Linked DNA regions of Homo sapiens: region 1 is linked to region 2. The links are contacts of gene promoters, found by promoter capture Hi-C in blood cells and fetal thymus (Javierre and others, 2016). All regions are on one chromosome and are shown on one strand. Each heading gives the region's core, a stretch centred on a gene start or on the middle of the fragment in contact. The rest is flanking DNA. Distances are from core to core; before and after follow the strand shown.

Region 1 (3,317 bases), core at 150-2,649, 520 kb after region 2:
CAGCATCTCAGTAGATGGACTCAAATTTGCCGAGGATGGGAGTGAACCAAACAATGATGACAAAATGAACGGTCATATCCATGGGCCTCTTGTGAAACTGAATGGAGACTATCGGACTCCCACCTTAAGGAAAGGAGAGTCTCTGAACCCTGTCTCTGACTTATTCAGTGAGCTGAACATTTCAGAAATACAGAAGTTGAAGCAGCAGCTTATGCAGGTAAGAACTTTGTTTAGGGCCGCTAGAGTGAATTTCTTGTAGATTGCAGGTAGCATGTTGTGGGACTTCTGATTCTCGCATTTCACTTCTAGATTTCTTTTCTTTTTTCTTTTCTTCTCTTTTCTTTTCTGTTCTTTTCGAGACAGAGTCTTGCTCCATCGCCCAGGCTGGAGTACAGTGGTGCAATTTCGGCTCACTGCAACCTCCGCCTCCCAGGTTCAAGTGATTCTCCTGCCTCAGCCTCCCGAGTAGCTGGGACTACAGGTGCCCGCCACCATGCCCGGCTAATTTTTTTGTATTTTTAGTAGAGACGGGGTTTCACCGTATTAGCCAGGATGGTCTCGATCTCCTGACTTCGTGATCCGCCCGCCTTGGCCTCCAAAGTGCTGGGATTACAGGCGTGAGCCACCGCGCCCAGCCCCAGCTTTCTTTTCTAAATATTGCTTCTTCAGCTAGAAACTTCGAAAGTGCAGTATTTTAGAAAGACATGACAGAAGGAGCGTTAAAGAGAAATGCAGTCTCTCATTTGCATCACTTCAAGAAATGAACTTCTGAGAGCCACAAATTGAGCTCCAATGAAGTCTGAGAAAAGACAGAAAAAAGTTCCTTGGGCCGGGCGCGGTGGCTTACACCTGTAATCCCAGCACTTTGAGAGGCTGAAGCGGGCGGATCACCTGAAGTCAGGAGTTCAAGACCAACCTGGCCAACATGGTAAAACCCCATCGCTACTAAAAATACAAAAAATTAGCTGGACGTGGTGGTGGGTGCCTGTAATCCCACCTAACTCAGGAGGCTGAGTCAGGAGAATCACTTGAACCCGGGAGGTGGAGATTGCAGTGAGCCGAGATCGCCATTGCACTCCAGCCTGGGCAACAAGAGTGAAACGTCATCTCAAAAAAAAAAGAAAAAGAAAAAAGAAAAGACAGAGCCTTAATGCATTTCTGATTAACAAAAGAATTCAAAAGCTTTATATACAAGTAAAATGATGGAAACCATGCAGTTTTTCATCACAAGCAACTGTGTTTATAGCTTCCAGATTTATGGTTACATTTCACAGGAATACTTGAAGCCTTAAAAGACGTAAAGGACTTCCTATGTACAAATTATCCAGGATACCGTATGATTAAAAATACAGAACAGGTATAATCTAAGACCAAAGGATTCTTATTGCAACATGAGTTAAACCTTAAATTTTTAGCGTCTTCAAAACAAATGTCTTGTGAAGATCCCAGCCTTGAAAAAATCGCTTTCTAGTTTAGAGTCTTGCCTTCCTGCCACATGTAATGGAAATGTTGTTTAAGAAACAGCAGCATTACCATCACCTGGGGGCTTATTTATACAAATTGTGGAGCTCCGTGTAGATCTACTGAACTAGAAACTGAACTAGAAATCTGGTATAACAAGCTTGTTAAGTGATTAAATTTGAGGCTTAATCTTCAATCTCAATCTTATCTCTCCAAGGTTCTTCATGTATAGCTGATAATTAGAGGCTGTTAAGCCTCTGGCAGTCATCTGCCTCCACGGAAATGATGACTGGAAAAGTGAAATTAGCAGAAATAAGTAAGAGAACAGAGAGCCAATGATGTTGATTTGTTAACAGGTTTATTTTCTATGTCTTTTTGCTCAGTTTACACTAATATGACTAGATTGATTGAAACAGAAAACATATTTCCTTGTGAAAAAGTTTTACATGACAGATGTATTCATAAGAATTTGTGCCCCCCAGATTGAATACCATTAAATAGAAGTTTTATGAGTTTTGTTTAACTCTCATATTGGTGGCTTTGAGATAAAAAGTTAGTGGGTTCAGGCTTTTTGTTTATTCCTTTTGTTTTGGTGGCAGTGCAGAAGATAATAGGAAAAGAGGCTTCTATGCATGAAACAGCACAACAATTTTCAAGCAGGTCATCTATTGGCTGAAAGCTCAGAGCTGTGCTCAGATTTAATTCTAAATGTGATCTGAATTGGGTAATACAAAAGTCTAAAAAAGATGAAAAGTTCAATTAAAAGAATGGTGGAAAACAAGTAAGTACTCAGCTGGAGACTGGCTCTCCTGAGTTCTCAATAGACTGTCGTTTTCGTTTGGTTTAGGCGGTTCCTCATTGCCAGAGAATGTTTTCTTCCTTGAGAAGGTTTAGCGTCTCTGATCCCAACTCATGAGATGCTGGTTACATTTCCTCAGTTGAAGTGATGACCAGAAACTCCCCATGTATTTCAAATGCTCTGAGAGTCAGCCACTAGTTGACAGTCATTCTTAGAGGACAGCACTTTACTTTCCCATGGAATGGGATACATAATACCTTCCTCGTTAGAGTGTCATGAAGGTTTATGAGTTATATGCAGAGTGCTGAGAACAGGGACTAGTGCACAGTAAATGCTCATTAATTATGAACTGTTATCATTATTTCAACTCCATTGGTCCTTTAATTTATTAGGCACTCACTTTATAATAATTTAGATAATTATTATTAACTATTATTTTTGGGCTATTAGCTCAAGGCCAATCACCCCAAAAGGGACTGATGTGGATACTGGTAGGAATATAGAAAAATAACAGTTAAGTCTCATGGTGCAAGAAGGTCTGAAAAAGGATATTCATTTAGCAAAATGTTAGGGTGAGAAAAACTTTGCTGGATAAACCCTCCATCAGTCTATTGAGAAAGCTGTGTCCCTTCAAATCTTTCTTCAACCCTTAACTGATGTTGACAGTTTGCAAAGATGTAGAGGGGCGCAGGTAGGTCCTTATATCCCAAAGTTTGCTCCAGATTTAGTTGTGAAAACCAGGTTCAACACAGGAAGGGCTTTGCAGCTTCCAATCTCATACTAACAACACTAACTGTAAATTTTTTTTTAGGTAGAATATCCATTTATCTTCTTGTAATCAGCGTTTTTAAAAAGCATGTCAGCTTTTCCTAAGAATATATTTTATTCAAACAAGTATATTCATGAGAAGTATACCTTCTCATGAACTATTTTTTTGCAATACAGTTTTTTCCTTAGCCACACATCTTTTTGGGTTAAATTTATGTAAATAAACACATTACAAAAACATTACAGGATACATTGCCTAGAATTTATTGTAATTGGCTTTGATGTTAAT
Region 2 (3,673 bases), core at 975-3,474:
ATAACAATCTGAGCTATCTCCTGACTTTGTGATTTTTTTTTTTTTTAGACAGTCTTGCTCTTGACACCCAGGCTGGAGTGCAATGGTGCGATTTCGGCTCACTGCAACCTCCACTTCCTGGGTTCAGGCAATTCTCCTGCCTCAGCCTTGACAGTAGCTGGGATTACAGGCGCCCACCACCACATCCAGCTAATTTTTGTATTTTTAATAGAGACGGGATTTCACCATGTTATAGTTCAAATACTTTTTTAAAAATTAGATGTGCTAGTTCTGTACTAACTTGTCTTTTTTTGCAAGTTAAAATGCTAGTCAGTTCTCAAATTTGTCTGTGAATTTTGCAGGATAGAGTATAAAATTCCTTAAATCCTAATTCCAAGCTCTTTACAATGTGGGCCCTACATCCCTAAAGTTTTCTCCTTTGCGTAAATACTACACTTGAGACAAACTAATTGTTTTCCCCCAACATAAACTTTATAGTTCTCTTCTGTTGCATTTCTACTCTCCAATATTTCTGATTCTTTTCCTCTCTTTTTTTTTTTTTGGATAAACAAGTTTATTTGTAAATTTAGTCAACATACATAATTGACCTAAAAACTTCAATAAGATAAATTTTAAAACCACTTGGAAGGCCATCTCTATAAAAATGATTTTCCCAGGACAGTAACCAGATGTAACCTAACCTAACACCATCTTAACCGGCAGAGGTTCAGTGGGCTAGAGCTTTGTGCTCCTCCCCTACACCAAGTTTTTATAATACAAATGCCACAAGAAAAAGAACTTCAGTACTGTTTCCTCTTAGCAGAGGAGAAAACTCAACCTAGTTATGAGACCAACCACACAACACAATGAAAAGCTGCACTAGTTCAGAATATTAGTTAACAGATGATGCTGGTGTGAATAACTCATATTTTTTTCTAGAGCCCTTATAAATAAAATCCCCCAGTTAGTGTTTCCATTATCAGCTAGAGGGTTAGTTAACATGTGGTAGAATGAGGATTTATGCAAGGTATAAATGCACATAGCATTTTACTACTATGAGAACAAGTGCAGTCAGAAGAAAACCAACTGGACTCTAAATTACACACACCTTAATGACAAGACTCCCCACCACTTGTGAATGTAAAACATTTAATTTGAAAATGTTGACACTACAATATATAAAATAGCTATTATAAATGCACATATTGTATTCTATAGCTGCCAGGTTTAATTTTTTTTTTTTAAAGGAAACTATAAGTTACACTGTGGTTAAGGTTTGTATCTTCACCCTTGAAAAAGCCTACATTCTATCACAGTGATGTATGGTCAGACTTAACAGCCCCAATTGTTAAACACTTGGATCAAGTCATAACCAGTTTTATTGCAAAAGGACCCTGTTGTACACATTTATCAATTCTAGTACCTTAATAGCTACCCAACAAGTCATTAACATACAGAAACATGCATCATGAGAAGCAAGAAATATCACGCATCCGTTTTGCATATTAACAACTTGTCACTCCTGAGCAACAGTGCTGACATCACTGAGGTCTGTAAACAGTCACTTTTCGCATTCATCCTGAGTGAAAGATGGAATGACTTAAGTACAAATGCAACATATAAACAATTTCTTACAAAAAAAGTCACCAATTAAACCAAAGTATTTTACAGAATTTACTACAAAATGCCATAAAAACTGCCTTCACTTAAGCTCTCTCTCCCCGTATCCGGCGAGCCAACTGGATGTCTTTGGGCATGATGGTGACTCTCTTAGCGTGGATGGCACACAGGTTAGTATCTTCCAACAGACCCACCAGGTACGCTTCGCTAGCCTCCTGCAGCGCACCGACGGCTGCGCTCTGAAACCTCAGGTCAGTGTTGAAATCCTGCGCGATCTCCCTCACCAACCTCTGGAAGGGCAGCTTCCGGATGAGCAGCTCGGTCGACTTCTGATAACGACGAATCTCTCGAAGCGCCACGGTCCCAGGCCTGTAGCGATGAGGCTTCACCCCGCAGGTAGAGGGGGTGCTTTTCCTGGCAGCTTTCGTGGCCAGCTGTTTGCGGGGGGCTTTCCCACCGGTGGATTTACGAGCAGTCTGCTTGGTTCGGGCCATTTTCTTTCACCCAACGCCGAAGTTTTAGGCCACTTCTCCGACCTCCGCGCTGCTTCCGCTGCCCGAGGAAGAGCCGCAGTCGCGAGCGAAGAACCGACACTGGTCCAACGAACGACCAAACCGCTCTGCGCCCTCCTCTCTTTTATCTGCATCCCTTCCATTCTTCAAAGCCCATTTCGGTGTTTCGTTTTTTGTTGTTGTTTTGTTTTTTGAGACGGAGTCTCGCTTTGTTGCCCAGGCTGGAGTGCAGTGGCGTGATTTCGGTTCACTACAACCTCCACCTCCCAGGTTCGAGCGATTCTCCTGCCTCAGCCTCCAGAGTAGCTGGGATTACAGGCGCCTGCCACCACACCTGGTTAATTTTTGTATTTTTAGTAGAGACGGAGTTTCACCATGTTGGCCAGGCTGGTCTCAAACTCCTGACCTCAGGTGATCCGCCCGCCGCAGCCTCCCAAATTACTGGGATTACAGGTGTGAGCCACTGCACCCGGCCTTTCAAAGCTCATTTCAATCCCACCTCCGTCACAAAGCATTCTTCAGCCACCTTCGTTTTCATCCTTTTTTTCTCTGCACTCTTTCTACCCTTATCATTTACTTGACACTATGCAAATTCTACATGTATATGTATTTCTCATTTATTTTTAGTAATTATCTTTTTTCTTATTATAAAAGTAATACTTGTCCAATTTAAAATACAAAAAATATAGAGAAACAAACTGAAATGTGGAATCACATGTGATAAACACACACACAAGTTGGCTGAATATCTGTTACTCTTGGAATGGGGAAAGAATCATCTAGTCATCTGCCAAGAGGTATAAACCTAAAGTTTAGAAACAGAAATCTGACTTTTAAATGTTACAGTTCTATATGATATTTGTTCCATGGAGTAAATCATAAAGTTTCTCTCTCTCTCTCTCTTTTTTTTTTTTTTTTTTGTTTTTTGGGAGATGGAGTTTCACTGTCCTCACCCAGGCTGGAGTGCAATGGCACGATCTCGTCTCGCTGAAACCTCCACCTCCCAGGTTCAAGCAATTCTCCTGTCTCAGCCTCCCAAGTAGCTGGGATTACAGGTGCCTGCCACCACACCTGGCTAATTTTTGTATTTTTAGTAGAGACGGGGGTTTTACCATTTTCGCCAGGCTGGTCTCGAACTCCTGACGTGAAGTGATCCACCCACTTCAGCCTCCCAAAGTGCTGGGATTACAGGAGTGAGCCACCGTGCCTGGCCACAAAGTATCTCTTTTGTCAGGTGAGTTTTTTAACTTCTAGAAATATGCCACAAAGTGAGCCAGGTGTGGTGGCTCCGCCTGTAATGGTAGCACTGGGAGGCCGAGGCAGGTGGATCACGAGGTCAGGAGTTTGAGACGAGCCTGGCCAACATGGCAAAACCTGTCTCTACTAAAAATACAAAAATTAGCCAAGCGTGGTGGCATACGCCTGTAGTCCCAGCTACTCGGGAGGCTGAGGCAGGAGACTTGCTTGAACCTAGGAGGCAAATGTTGCAATGAGCCCAGATTGCACTACTGCACTCCAGCCAGGGTAACAGAGTGAGACTTTGCCTCCAAAAATAAAAAAAT

What was found. Contacts are between HindIII fragments. The CHiCAGO score rates a contact against its expected background, and 5 or more counts as called.
Region 1: a contact is called between a fragment that was not itself captured here and the fragment with the promoter of H3-5 in region 2, in 2 of 17 cell types (total B cells and naive B cells). The highest score is 8.1, in total B cells.

What each region holds. Positions count from the first base shown.
Region 1 is chr12:32,305,906-32,309,222 of GRCh38, forward strand. BICD1 (BICD cargo adaptor 1) reads left to right here. Exons shown (of 10, transcript NM_001714.4): 4 at 1-217. Among named protein-coding and RNA genes, the nearest start is that of FGD4, 92 kb to the right of the region's middle. The HindIII fragment of the contact is 439 bases long and covers 1,181-1,619 here.
Region 2 is chr12:31,790,074-31,793,746 of GRCh38, forward strand. H3-5 (H3.5 histone) reads right to left here and starts at 2,225. Exons shown (of 1, transcript NM_001013699.3): 1 at 1,112-2,225. The coding sequence starts at 2,093. The coding sequence ends at 1,686. The HindIII fragment of the contact is 13,966 bases long and covers 1-3,673 here.